Linked DNA regions of Homo sapiens: regions 1 and 3 are each linked to region 2. The links are contacts of gene promoters, found by promoter capture Hi-C in blood cells and fetal thymus (Javierre and others, 2016). All regions are on one chromosome and are shown on one strand. Each heading gives the region's core, a stretch centred on a gene start or on the middle of the fragment in contact. The rest is flanking DNA. Distances are from core to core; before and after follow the strand shown.

The links. Contacts are between HindIII fragments. The CHiCAGO score rates a contact against its expected background, and 5 or more counts as called.
Region 1: a contact is called between a fragment that was not itself captured here and the fragment with the promoter of RBBP8 in region 2, in 2 of 17 cell types (total B cells and naive B cells). The highest score is 7.2, in total B cells.
Region 3: a fragment that was not itself captured here is called in contact with the fragment with the promoter of RBBP8 in region 2 in 4 of 17 cell types (total B cells, activated CD4 T cells, total CD8 T cells and 1 more); the score reaches 6.3 in total B cells.

Annotation. Positions count from the first base shown.
Region 1 is chr18:23,483,695-23,488,669 of GRCh38, reverse strand. No RefSeq gene overlaps it. Among named protein-coding and RNA genes, the nearest start is that of RMC1, 17 kb to the left of the region's middle. RefSeq lists an enhancer at 258-427. The HindIII fragment of the contact is 164 bases long and covers 3,310-3,473 here.
Region 2 is chr18:22,930,089-22,935,072 of GRCh38, reverse strand. It overlaps RBBP8 (RB binding protein 8, endonuclease), which reads right to left and starts at 1,745. Exons shown (of 19, transcript NM_002894.3): 1 at 1,509-1,745. RBBP8-AS1 (RBBP8 antisense RNA 1) reads left to right here and starts at 1,309. Exons shown (of 5, transcript NR_198963.1): 1 at 1,309-1,485. MIR4741 (microRNA 4741) reads right to left here and starts at 1,724; the gene lies at 1,635-1,724. RefSeq lists enhancers at 952-1,001, 1,362-1,491, 1,175-2,015 and a silencer at 1,622-1,701. The HindIII fragment of the contact is 3,221 bases long and covers 1-2,781 here.
Region 3 is chr18:23,443,209-23,447,928 of GRCh38, reverse strand. No RefSeq gene overlaps it. Among named protein-coding and RNA genes, the nearest start is that of SLC35D4, 7.6 kb to the right of the region's middle. The HindIII fragment of the contact is 3,752 bases long and covers 145-3,896 here.

The DNA of each region.
Region 1 (4,975 bases), core at 2,142-4,641, 550 kb before region 2:
CTCCTGGATTCAAGTGATTCTCCTGCCTCAGCCTCCCAAGTAGCTGGGATTACAGGCGCCTGCCACCACACCTGGCTAATTTTTTGTATCTTTAGTAGAGACGGCGTTTCACCATGTTGGCCAGGCTGGTCTTGAACTCCTGACCTCGTGATCCACCCGCTTCGGCCTCTCACAGTGCTGGGATTACAGGCATGAGCCACTTCAGCCCGCCGGAAGCTGACATTTGCTGCCGCTTTGTTCCACAATGAACTTGCTGCTTTGAAAGCGGTGACTGAGAGGTTGAGACACTGAGCAGAAAAGGAAAGCTAAGAAGCTGAAAAGCTGTTAAAACTTTTTTTAAGGCAGATTCAGGACTGGGACAGTAAAATCTGGGGTACAGAGCCTGCTAGAGGCAGTCCTGGGGCCCTGGAGGGGACTCTGACCTAGGAACAGGTCAACTAAAATAGGGGGAAACCTTAAGTGCAGCCTCGAGCCAGCTCTACCCTTGATGGATACCTGGCTGCCCTGCCCACTGCTGGGGTTACTGAATCAGCGCTTAGTTCATTAGTTTGTTTTTCTTCTCCTTTCTTAGTTTACTATGAGCCAGTGTTTCCGGAGCCACCAAAAAAGCTCAATATAACTCCTGGTGTTTAAGATAAGCACTTGACATGCTTGTTTTCCTTTTACAGCAGCTTAAAATGTGCGTCTGACAGTTTCTAAAACCTAAAACAACACATAGGCTTTTCTGTTTATTTTTATTCTTATTTTTATTTTAAGTTCCGCTTTTCTGTTTTGCTGAGTTTTGTTTGCTTTAATTTTTGTTTTATAGTCTTTGTTAGACTCTATGACAGATGTCTGAAGGCATATGTAGCCAAATTTGTATAGTGGCTCTCACTACTTGGCATGTTTTCAGGTGGCTTTTACTTTGTTCTTTAAACTTTCTAAAGTCCTTTTTGTTTTAAAATGAGGATGAATAATATTTACAAAGAGCTATTTCTAAAGTATGTATTTGCTGGCAAATCTTGACTACGTATCACTGTTTTGGAACCTGCTTTTTCATTTCAGAAGTGTTTTATGTTTGAATGCATCTTTCTTTCTCTCTTTTCTTTCTTTCTTTCTTTCTTTCTTTCTTTCTTTCTTTCTTTCTTTCTTTCTTTCTTTCTTTTTCTTTCTTTTTTTTTTTTTTGAGACGGAATTTCCCTCTGTGGTCCAGACTGGAGTGCAGTGGTGCGATCTCGGCTCACTGCAACCTCCACCCCCCGGGTTCAAGTGATTCTCCTGCCTCAGCCTCCCAAGTAGCTGGGATTACAGGTGCCTGCCACCATGCCCAGCTAATTTTTGTATTTTTAGTAGAGATGGGGTTTTGCCATGTTGGCCAGGCTGGGCTTGAACTTTTGACCTCAGGTGATCCACACGCCTCGGCCTCCCAAAGTGCTGGTATTACAGGCGTGAGCCACCGTGCCGGGCCTGAATGCATGTTTCTTTCTACATTTGCATTTGCATGTACATATGTATATAACAAGTGTCAGGAGTAATGTATATGGTGATTGTCTTGTACTGTGGGTGATTTCTGCTTTTTTCCCCCTATGGTTTCCAGAAGTTTCAGGAGGGTCTGCAGATGCTGGTAAGACCCCCGCCCCAGTTGGTTTCCAGGTTCTTGACACCTTTTCGAGAAAGAATTCAGGGACAAGTCAGAATGAAGGGAAAGGCAAAAAGCTTTTATTGCAAAGTGATAGTATGCACTGAAGAGAGAAGTGCAGGCATGTTTGTGAGAATGAGTCACACAGAGGGAGTTTGGGTTTCTAATTTTATGGGTGTTTCTTTAATTAGGGGGTGAAATAATCATTAGGTATTTTGGAAGAGGGGGGATTTCAGGGACCCCCCACTGTCCCACACCCCCAGGTACCACCCCCTTTCTCCCTGATTTGGGTTTGCACTGAAGAGTCATGGACATGTCACCCTGTCTCTGTTGCCAAGGCTGGAGTGCAGTGGCGTGATCTCGGCTCACTGCAACCTTTGTCTCCTGGGCTCAGGTGATCCTCCCGAGTAGCTGGACTATAGGCGTATGCCACCATGCCCAGCTATTTTTTTTTTTTTTTTTTTGTATTTTTGGTAGAGAAGGGGTTTCACCATATTGCACAGGCTGGTCTCGAACTCCTGACCTCAGGTGATCTGCCCTCCTCAGCCTCCCACAGTGCTGGGATTACAGTCATGAGCCACCAAACCCAGCCTTCTCCTCCTGATTTTGGGTTTTCTGTTATCCCACAGTTTCTTTGCCTAGCTCTTGTTTAAGCTCTTGTGTGGATTCTTCCATCCTCTTGCGAGCACCCAGTGATCTTCCTATCTCATTCCCCCTTCAGAGATTTCCATCCCTTATTCTTAAGGGTTGATGAGGGAGGAGGTCAGTCATCTGTGTCGTCTTCTTGCTGATTTAAGGGCGCTGGCCCTGCCTACCAAAGGATTGGAAATCTCTGGCTGCTGGTCTAAGGATCCCAGGCTGCATTAGCAGGAGAGTCCCATGCTGAGACAGGAATTGGCTGAAATCCTTGCATCACCATCATCTTTACATGGAGTTGCTGTAACCTAGAAGATATAAACTTTATAAGGAAGTTGAATACGCATGGGCCAAATATTTTTATTATTATTATTTTATTTATTTTTTGAGACAGAGTCTCACTCTGTCACCAGGCTGGAGTGCAGTGGTGTGATCTCGGCTCACTGCAACCTCCGCCTCCCAGGTTCAAGCAATTCTCCTGCCTCAGCCTCCTGAGTACCTGGGACTACAGGCGCGTGCCACCATGCCCAGCCAATTTTTGTATTTTTAGTAGAGACAGGGTTTCACCATATTGGCCAGGATGGTCCCAATCTCTTGACCTCATGATCTGCCCGCCTCAGCCTCCCAAAGTGCTGGGATTACAGGTGTGAGCCATCATGCTCGGCCCAATGGGCCAAATACTAACAATAAGATCACCATTAATGGGCCTAAAAGTGGTAAAACCAGGTAACAGAAAGTAGAGCAGCCTTAACGCATTCCCTTTGGAATCGGCCAAAAGGTTTTCCTTTCCAAAGGTGTGAAGCCCTTTTGCTTGGTCAGCTGTGCCTGAATTCCAAAGTGGGGGAAGGTATGGCGAGGCGTGACTGACTCCCAGCTTCCTGTCATGACCTGAACTAGGTTTTCAGGCTGTTTCGGTTGTTGTTTGGATTCCCTTTGGCCAAGAGAGAGATCCATTCTGTTGGGGGCTTCTAATTTTTTTTTTTTTTTTTTTTTTTTAGTTTATATTTTCTCTTTTTTTGTCAACGCATCCCAGAGGCAGTGTTGATGGCCAAGCTTTCATTCTGGCCCATATTGATGCTGGGGTGGCATGCTACAGGCCCTGGGTCCTTCATGTCCCCTAGTGGGACCCCTATGGCCAAGAGACTTAGAGTCAAAAAAACTTATTGCCAATTAAACATGCTAGACAAGATAGGAATGGAGGTGGGCAGGGACTCAAGCTTCAGCCTGTTTTCCCTTTGCTCCCCCTTTCCCTTTTGTGTGCACTTTTAGGTCTGAAGGTTTGTCCTTTCCTGCTGCCTTCTTTTTTGGCTTCGTTTCTACTTTTGCAGGAGCAGGGTTAGGGGACAACTGTGCCCATCTCCTCCTGGGCTTTTCCTTCACAGCCCTCTTGACTGAGCTGACCTTCCTCCTGGGCATGTTGGTGGTGGGGAGGGGGCCTGCCGGGTGCCTACGGGCAATGGCGAAACCAGAGCCTTCTGGAAGCTGGGCTCACCAGCTGCTGCCGCTCCTCCCACCACCCAAGCTGCCGAGACCTGTGGCAGATTTTTTTCCCTCAAGTTTATAGAGCTATCTGTAGTAGCTCACTCATGTATTCTGTAATGAATACCCCACCTTCCCCACCCCTCCATCTGCCACTTTCTTATCTACCGAATTTGATCTTAACTCCTCAAAAAGCTAGCCAAGTCTGGGAGAAAGTTGGAAAGCTTAGGATGGTAAAAGTAATGCTGTTCCAAATGCAACCTTGTATTATTTTTACACTGGAAACAAATCGGAAAAGAATAAAAACAAGAGGCTTTCAAATTAGTAAACTGATGTCTCCAAGTATAAAACACACTTTGATAACTTATTTTTATGTAATCCTGACAAAAATCCAATAGAAAAATATTGTCTTCAAAAACCTAAGGATCAAGGTTTGAAAATATAATCAGATGAGCTTTTCTCTGCTCCTATAGAGCTTGGAATTTCAAAAGGTGCAGAAAACAATCTCTTCTGATGCCCGGAGCCCAAATGAGCAGTAAGAAATGTACTCCTAACACATCTTAGGGCCTATTGTCTTCATCTTCCTTAGAGTCTCCCGTGCTCAACATTTCCCCATCAGCTGCCTCGCTTCATCCTGCTTTTTGTTCAAAGGTTTTTTAAAAAAGGAAATACCATATGCTGAGGGGAAAAAAATTGCAGGGATGTATGCCACACTATAAACAATGGTCTTTGGAATATGAAGGACTTTTACTTTTTTTTCTGAGACAGAGTCTTGCTCTGTTGCCCAGGCTGGAGTGCAGTGGCACCATCTCAGCTCCTCTGCCTCCTGGGTTCAAGTGATTCTCCTGCCTTAGCCTCCCAAGTAGCTGGGATTACAGGCATGTGCCACCACACCCGGCTAATTTTTGTATTTTTAGTAGAGACAGGAATTCACCATGTTGGCCAGACTGGTCTCAAACTCCTGACCTCAGGTGACCTGCCCACCTCGGCTTCCCAAAGTGCTGGGATTACAGGCCTGAGCCACTGCGCCTGGCCGAGGGACTTTTACTTGAACATTTCTGAATTCCTACAATATTTAAATTCAAATAAATGACTTACTTTTGTAAGCAAGAAAAACTAATTTTTATGAAAAGAAAACTGGTAATTATCTTGTTGAAATAAAAGTTATCTAGTCATCCTTATTTTGATAACTTAATGTGAGACAAAATATCCCTATTTCCGTATTTTATATATTTTCATTTT
Region 2 (4,984 bases), core at 496-2,995:
AAACAAATGGGCCTATATATAATTGTGAATAAAAGTCACCATTTGTTTCCCACATACCAGAAACTATAGAATATTAATATTAATATTTGTATTTATATATTATTTAATATATAATTATATATTATAGAATATTTATATTCTACCTAACCTTCAGAAAAACTCTGTAAGACAGCTACTATAATTTCATTTTAGAGTTGGGGGAAGAGGCGTAAGGCAGTAAATGTCCAAGGTCACACAGCTGGGACATGGCTATGTCAGGGATGGAAATCAAGTCATGAGACCAATAACTGTAAAATACCTCTCTGTAGCCCGCATGTTCTCAATCATAGGTGGGAACTGAACAATGAGAACACCTGGACACAGGAAGGGGAACGTCACACACCGGGGCCTGCCGTGGGGTGGGGGGAGGGATAGGATTAGGAGATATACCTAAAGTAAATGACGAGTTAATGGGTGCAGCACACCAACATGGCACATGTATGCATATGTAACAAACCTGCACGTCGTGCATATGTACCCTAGAACTTAAAGTATAAAAAATAATAATAAAATAAAGAAAAAATACCTCTCTGCAGCAAAAAGAAAAAAAAAGAAGACATAAACGATTTCTATTAAGTCAACAGTTTAAAATGAAGGTTTAATTACTTCAATGACCGAAAAAGTATTAACATATTCGTTTAAAGAGTGTAAAATAAGCATCCTTTACGTATCTATCTTCAAGTAAGTGATGTACAGTGCCTTAAAAACAAAACATAAAAACAAAACATTCAACTTGCAAATTCTGGCTCGCAAAACCCTTTCCACCTACCCGCATGCCCGGCACTTTTTGTTAGCATCTCTCTCTGCAATGAACCGTTATTCGAGGCACGACGACAATGTACATTTTTCAATCTCTCAGAACGTCACGTCTTACCTCCCAAGTTGCATTCTGGGCTCAAAGGCCTGTAATTTGTGTGTATTCCTTAGTATAAACCACTACACTGCAGGTGCTCACCAAAATACTCGCTGCCACACCACAGGTATTCTCACACGGGTAAGGCGAGAGGCACATTTCATCACACAGGGGACTTGAACAAACTGCACGGGACATTTCAGGGGTCCTCTTATGGGCGGAGCAGAGCAGCGGGGCAAAGGCTTTCCAGCCAGGTCCCTTCTCCATCCATTTCTCCCCAGGTGCCCGCGCCGGTTCCGCGTGCGGGTCTGGCCAAAAAACCTCCGAAGCGCGCGCGCGAGCCGCAGTCGGCGCATGCGCGGGGCGGGCTTGGCGGCGAAAGGCGCTTCCTCAGCCCGCGCGGGAGACCCAGAAGTAGTACTGAGGTAGCGCTCGTCCTCCCGCCGGTCCACCACCACCGAGTGTAGCCCGGGCCCGGCCTATTTCATCAGACACAACCCCAGAGCCGGGAGCCACCCCTACCCCGGGAGCCCTTCGCCAAGCACGCAGCTCCAGACCAGAAGCAGTCGCTCCGACCCAGAGCTCCGGGTGGGGTAAAGAGATTGCTTTTACTCACCGCCTCCGAGATTGCCTCGGGATTCGCGAAAGCCCCCGAAGGGAAGCGAGCACTTTCTGAGGCTGTGAAAGGACGGCTGCTCGCTTTTCTCTTTCGCCCTTTTCCCTCACCAGAGTGCCAAATCCTCGGTGGGAAAGCCGACCCCTCCGGACAGCCCGCGCTTTAAGGCCGGGGGCTGCCGGCCGGGCTCGGAGGCGGCCGGACCCGCCCCGCCCGGGAGCCCGCGCGACGTCACGCGGGAGTTCCACTTGCGTCACGCCCCTTCCTCCAGCTGCCCATCGCGGCGGCGCACTTCGTGCCCTAGCTGAGGAGCGGGCTCTTCGGTGCGGCCCATCCCGGAGGGCGATGGTTGGGGAGGGGAGCGCTACCTCGGAGCTGCCGGGAGCTACCCGAAGAGTCTGGCGACCGCCACAGCATTTCTGAATTGCGCTGGGGAAAGCTCAAGCCGTTCTGTTGGGGGAGCATCAAGCCCTTGCGGTTCTGTGAAAGTTATCTGTACACTGTGTCTAGCTTAAGCATTTTGCAGGGAAGCATGTGTAGAGTGACCTGTACCGAATGAAGAGTTAAAATTAACTGATGGGGGGTATGGACGCGGATCCGTCTAACATAGTTTTCGGCCTTGTCGCTGTTATCTGCAGTTTAGTGATGTGACCTGACAGGGTTGTGCGGTAACGCCATAGATCAAAACGATCTGTATTTTGCTGAGGTTAAACGGGAAGTTTCTGGCAAATTTGAAACGAGAAGGAATCTCCTTCAGCATTATTTATTGGGACAACATGCTGTTAGATAATTTTTTTTAAAAAGTCCATTTTTCTTGTGGCTGTTCGTTTGAGATTCAAACCGATAGTAGGTATTCCTATTTCTCCTGATTTGTAAAAGAATCGTTTTTAGACCACTAGAAATTCTACAAATGAACAAAATAGACTAGAATCAAATATCTTTTAAACCAGTCCAGTACTTTTGTGTAATTATTCTAAGACCTGGGAAGGGATAATATTAACAGGCTTTAAAAGTTTAGTACTTAGAAATCATAAATACAAAGTGGAAAGGTAATTTTTCCACCTGTCCCACATCTTAAGGGATGAATAAATATAACTTAAAAAGTTAGTATACAGAAGAGGGGTGCTAAACCTTCTATTAGCCTGTTACAGCAACTATCATTCACTTCCCCATTTTATAAGACTTAACTCCACATTTTTAAAAGAAAATGGATGAAATTTTGACTATGTAATTTTTAACGCAAGATAGGAAACATAATTGACAGAGTGAAGCTTTTATGTTTATGACAGAAATAACCTGTAATAAGTTTGTCATTTAACAGAGTATTGAAAGAGCAGTGTGCTGTGGTCTCTACTGTGGTCCAAAGAAAAACTGAGCAGAATGACCCAACCTGTTCCTATGGCCTCTGCCTGTGTCTCACTCTCTAATCCATTTATGCAAGTCAGAAACCAAAGAGTCATCCTTGACACTTTATTCATCCCTAACTTCCATATCCAAGCCATCACGCAGTCCAATTTTACTTACTAAACATGTAAATCCATCCCCTTCTCTCCATCACTACCTCCATAATCCAAGATACTGTTATTTCTTACCTAGTCTACTGCTAGGCTCCTTTCCACATCCACGCTACCAACCACCCCTCCTAAATCTTTGTTTTCACTGGTGTTCAGAAAAAAATTTGAACTTCTATTCTCCATATATATATTTAATTTTAAATTACATACATGTACTGTTGAAAAATGGTACATGATCTAATGAAGTTACAGGCTCTGAAGTCAGACATCTGGGTTTAAATCCTGCTCTAATACTTCCTTACTGAGTGACTTTGGACTGACTGCTTAAGCTCGCTGTCCCATTTTACCTACCTGTAAATTGAGGATAATAATAGTACCAACCTCACAGGGTATTAAGATTAAATGAATATATGTAAACTGCTTAGTATTCAGATATATACTATGTGCCCAAAAGCTAGCCATAATTAGTATTTCTTAGCTAATATGATTATAATCCATTTTAAAAGCATTTTTAAAGGATAAAAAATAGAATAAAAATACATCTTCCCTCCTCCACCTTAAATTGTGTCTACTTTGAGACCACTTCTCTATACTGCAGCTACTGTGATCTTGAAAAGTAAATCTGTTAATGTCACTATGCTGCTTAAACCCTTTCAGTGGCTTCCAGTTACTCTGTGAAGGAAGCCCCTTTGAATTGCCTCTGCTACCCCTTTGGCTTTATTTCCAGACATTTTCTGTCCTCTGGTCTCACTAGACTTTTGATGTCTCCTAGGCCATTGCGTGCTATTGTCTCTGCCTGGAGTTCTCCACCAAACCTACCCCCACTCTTTGCCCCAGCTATCTACTAATCATGTTTTTATCTTATTTCAATAGTCTCTTCTACTAGATCCTCCTACAGTACCATGTAACCTCCCCATCTTACAGTTTTTATTGTTTTAGTTATTTAATTAATTCTGTCTCCCCACTGGACTGTAAATTTCTTGAGATAAAAAACCACGTCTTGGGCCAGACTTTGGGTGGCTGAGGCAAGAGGATCACTTGAGGCCAGGAGTTCAAGATGAGCTTGGGCAACATAGTGAAATCTTGTCTCCTATTCTAAAAATCAAACCAAAATAGCTGGACACAGTGGTTCGTGCCTCTAGTTCTAGTTACTGTGGAGGCTGAGGTGGGAGGATTGCTTGAGCCCAGGAGTTCAAGGCTGCAGTGAACTATGATTGTGCCACTGTACTCCAGCCTAGGTGACAGAGCGAGAGACCCTGTCTTAAAATTAAAAAAATAAAAAATAAAAAAGGTTTGTTCACCCTTTTATCTCCAGGAACTAGCCCAGTGTCTGCCACCAAATCAATATTCTATGAATGAATGAAATGGGCATTCCCTGGTGGATCCCATTTCTATGTAAATGGAAACCTTTGGGTACATTCAAAATTCTTAGATTTTTAAATGAGATTTTATATGGCCACTTTAACAATGGAAATGGCGGGCATCCTCATAGATAGGTTCTAAAGCTTTAAGAACCACATGGAATAAATTTTGAGGTTCCAAAGATCTGCTGAAAAAACATCTTTAACAGAGAAGCAGTTATTTTGAACTCTTCATAATACTGGGTTTCTCATATGTTGTGGCTTAGGACAGTACTTCCCAAACTTTTTCAATTTCAGCATGCTTAGAAAATGAACACTTGTGTTATATATTGTAATGAAAAGATGAGGCTGCTTCCATCCAGTGGCAACAGAAGTTGAGACTAGTCACCTCAGGCCCAGTGCTGCCACCTTCAGGGCTAGGTTTTTAATGTCCCAGCACACCTATTGGAGGCCCCTGGCTAGAATGCTGAATTTAAATAAACTAGTGAAATAGTTAAAATGGTAAGTTTACATTATGTATATCTAGGCACCAATTTAAAATAAATTGTGTGATAGCAGTACAGACTCTAGGATTCTTAAAAGTAAAGTTTTGGAACTCACG
Region 3 (4,720 bases), core at 771-3,270, 510 kb before region 2:
GTTATGTGAATTTCACCTCAATTTTTAAAAAAAGTAACAAAGATAGTGGGCTACTGAAGGATTTTAGAGGTAGAGAAGATGCAGGCAATTCTGAGGTCAGAGGAAGCCATAATGAAGAGGTGGTGAGGTTGAGGTTGGGAAGCTTAACGGATCAGGATAAAAATGTCAGTGTATTGGATGGGTGATATGCGTGGACCCTAAAACCACCCAGCAAGATGGCAGGACTTGAGGTAGATTGGAAGAGAATGTACCGGTGCCACAGTCTTAGACAATGTGCAGATTGTACCCAAGAGATTGGTAGATGATGCTAAGGAAATTTAGAGGTCATGATAATGGAATGGTTAGAGACTGGAGAGACCTGACAACCTGAGGGGCCAGGAATAACATTTTGGGAGCTGTGCTGGGGAGAGTGAAGAATGCTGCCCTGCCCTGGAGGGAAATGAATAGTTCCAGAAGACCCTAAGGTTTTAAATGAGGCAAGAAAGTAGGGATGGCAGGCTGTAAGGACAAGGGAAGTTGATTAATCCCTTGTTATGGGTTTAATGGTTTATGAGTTCCCATGGGTTTTGTGGTTTAACAATTTTAATGGTTGCTTGTTGACAGTTAAGATACATACCTGATGCCACCAACTATGTACTCCTTAAAAAGGAAGATAGAAGGACATGCACAATATTTGCAAATTCTACATTTACAAATGTTGCTAATAGGAAAAATGTGGTTTACCAATAACAGCATTTAGTCCTATGTGATTTAATAGTGAGTCCTTGAATGGGGAAACGGCCATTTTGCTGTCAGGCAGAGTAAGCAATGTTTAGAGGCTTTGGCTCCAGCTCCTACTCCCTGTCTTCTCTGCTGATGAACTCACTGCTGGTTCTCTGTCTTTTTTTTTTTTTTTTTTTTTTTTGAGACGGAGTCTCGCTCTGTCGCCCAGGCAGGAGTGCTGTGGCGCAATCTCGGCTCACTGCAAGCTCCACCTCCCAGGTTCACGCCATTCTCCTGCCTCAGCCTCCCGAGTAGCTGGGACTACAGGCACCCGCCACCACACCCAGCTAATTTTTTTGTATTTTTTTTTTTAGTAGAGATGGGGTTTCACCGTGTTAGCCAGGATGGTCTCGATCTCCTGACCTCGTGATCTGCCTGCCTCGACCTCCCAAAGTACTTGGATGACAGGCGTAACCCACCGCACCCAGCCAAACTCACTGGTTCTCAGCAGGAACAAAACTATTTGAGAATCTGCCCTGTCTAAACACATGAATCAGCAGATTCTTTGGTCTCTAAAGAGAACAGAAATAAGGCTCTTTAGTTTTTAATATTGAAATAAGTCTATTCTGCAAATAGCTGTTTCAGGCAATGAACAACTATCTATTAACTACCTAGGATGCCCCCAGTCCTTTGGGAAAAACAAAGAACTGTGAGATTGCACTTGGAGAGATAACAATAGTCACACAATAACATTAAATAACAATACAACACCTCTATCTCAAAGAGTGCATGATTTATTTCCAAATGACAGCTATAGACACAAACATTTCAGGATTCATTGTGGGGTAGTGAGATCTGGAAAGGCTGCGTGGCACCAAAGTAGGTCATGAACGCTGGGGAGAAGCTGTAACGCTAGTTTGGGTGGAAGAACAGCCTAAGACTAGGCATAGGGGCAGGAAAGCCCATAGTATATTTAGTGACTGCTGAGTAGTTTCATAAGATTATTAGATGAAATGTTACAGATATGGTTCAGTTAGGGTCAGCTGGGACTCAGCAGTTCTTAAGCCTATCTAACCCATTGCCATTTTTAACAACAAAGATTTTGTTTTGCTCCCTTTACTGCATAGTATCTTTTAAAATTGATATATAATGATCGACTATAAGGGATAAACAAAAGGAAAATTATTTTTATTTATTTATTTTGAGACAGAGTCTTGCTGTGTCACCCAGGTTGGAGTGCAGTGGTACAATCATGGCTCACAACAGCCTTGACCTCCTAGGCTCAAGCAATTCTCTTGCTTCAGCCTCCTGAGTAACTGGGAGGTGTGCGCCACCACACCTGGCTACTTTTTTAATTTTTATATTTTGTAGAAACGGGATTTCACCATGTTGCCAAGGCTGGTCTCAAACTCCTAGGCTCAAGTGATCCTCCTGCCTTGGCCTCCCAAAGTCCTGGGATTACAGGTGTGAAGCACTGTGCCTGGCTTCTAGCATCATTTGTTAAAAAGTGCTGTTCTTTGTTCATCGGATTGTCTTGTCAAAAATCAACTGGCCATAAACGTGAGGGGTTTCAGTTCTATTCCATTGGTCTGTATGTGTATCCTTATGCCAGTACCATACTGTCTTGAGTGTAGCTTTGTAATAATCTCTGAAATTAAGAACTATGAATCCTTTAACTTTGTTCTTCTCTTTTAAGATTTTTAGCTATAAAGGGTCTCTTTAATTTCCATATGAATTTTAGGATCAGTTAGTTAATTTCTGCAGAGAAAAATAAACCAGGTAGAATTCTGATTGGGACTGTATTGAATCTGTAGAATCAACTTGGGGATTATTGCCATCTTAATAATATCCAGTTTTCCAATCCATAAGCATGGGATATTTTTCTGCTTAATTTTATTTATTTATTAATTAATTCAATTGGTCTTCTTTAATGCCCTTCAAAAATATTTTGTAGTTTTCAGATAATAAATTTTTCATTTATTTTGCCAATTTTTCATAAGTATTATGCTTTTTATGGTATTTTAAATAAAACTTATTCCTTAGTTTTATTTTCAGATCGTGCATTGCAAGTGTATAGAAATATAATTGATTTTTGTATATTGATCTTGCATTCTGCAACTTGCTGGATTCATCTACTAGTTCTAACAGTTTTTTAGTGTATTCTTTATGGTTTTCTATATGTGAAATTTTGTCTTCTGTATTAGAGATAGTTTTATTTCTTCTTTTGAAATCTGGATGCCTTTTATTTATTTATTTTTCCTTGCCTTGTTGTCCTGGCTAGAGCCTCCAACACAGTGTTGAATAGAAGTGACAAGTTGGTTATTCTAGTCTGGCTTCTGATCTTAGTGAGGAAAGCACTCTTTCATCATTAGCTATGATGTTAGGGTGTGGGTTTTTATAGAAACCTTTTATGATATTGAGGAAGTTCCCTCCTATTTCTAGCTTCTGAATGTTTTGTTTGTTTGTTCGTTTGTTCGAGGTGGAGTCTAGCTCTGTCGCCCAGGCTGGAGTGCAGTGGCGCGATCTCGGCTCACTGCAAGCTCCGCCTCCTGGGTTCACACCATTCTCCTGCCTCAGCCTCCCGAGTAGCTGTAACTACAGGCGCCCGCCACCACGCCCTGCTAATTTTTTTTTTTTTTGTATTTTTAGTAGAGACGGGGTTTCACTGTGTTAGCCAGGATGGTCTCCATCTCCTGACCTCGTGATCCACCTGCCTCGGCCTCCCAAAGTGCTGGGATTACACGCGTGAGCCACCACGCCCGGCCATAGCTTCTGAATGTTTTTATTGCGAAGGGGTGTTGAATCTTGTCAAATGTCTTATCTATGTCTAGGTATCCTTTATTATATCAATATAATAAATTATCCTTTATTAGATATTGTGTATTATATGAACTGGTTTTGTAGGTTAAACCAACGTTGCATTCCTGGGATAAGTCCCATTTGGTCAAGCTGTATATTCTTTTTCATGTTGCTGAATTCCTTCTGCTAGTGTTTGGTTGAAGATTTTTGCATCTATATTCATAGGAGATATTTATATTCTCTCTGTTTTTTAAGGGTGATTTAAGGAGTTTCAAAATGTGTGCTACTGCTTCTGTCATCTTTTGAGAATTCTGCATGTGTGCTATCATAAAAATTTATTATTAAAAAAAGATTTGTGGGGGAAAAATCCCACAAGCCATTGTTTTATCCAAGCTTCCCTCTTTTTTCATTCAATAAACATTTATTGAGCATTTATGAATATATTATCAAAAAAAATAATGGGCGGGGCGCGGTGGCTCACGCCTGTAATTCCAGCACTTTGGGAGGCCGAGGCGGGCGGATCTCCAGGTTAGGAGATCGAGACCATCCTGGCTAACACGGTGAAACCTCGTCTCTACTAAAAAAAAAAATTACAAAAAAATTAGCCGGGCATGATGGCGGGCGCCTGTAGTCCCAGCTACTCGGCAGGCTGAAGCAGGAGAATGCTGTGAACCCGGGAGGCAGAGCTCGCAGTGAGCCGAGATTGCGCCACTGCACTCCAGCCTGGGCGACAGAGCGAGACTCCGTCTCAAAAAAAAAAAAAAAAAGAGAGATCAAGACCATCCTGGCCAACATGGTGAAACCCCGTCCCTATTAAAAAATACAAAAAAAATTAGCTGGGTGTGGTGGTGTGCGCCTGTAGTCCCAGCTACTCGGGAGGCTGAGGCAGGAGAATCGCTTGAACCCGGGAGGCAGAGGTTGCAGTGAGCCAAGATCGTGCCATTGCACTCCAGCCTGACGATAGAGTAAGACTCCATCTCAATAAATAAATAAATAAATAAATAAATAAAGTAATTAATGATAATGCCCCTTTGGTCTCAAACATCTCAATTAATAATACAAGTACATATTTTCATGTGCATAGCAAGTTTACCTCAATCTCACATTAACAGCTATGGTTCGTCAATGTAAAATCTGCTGATTTTGTTTTAATTCAGTCTTTGTTTCTGGAACAGAATAATACAGCTTTGGAAAAATCAATACCTCTGGCAATATCTTT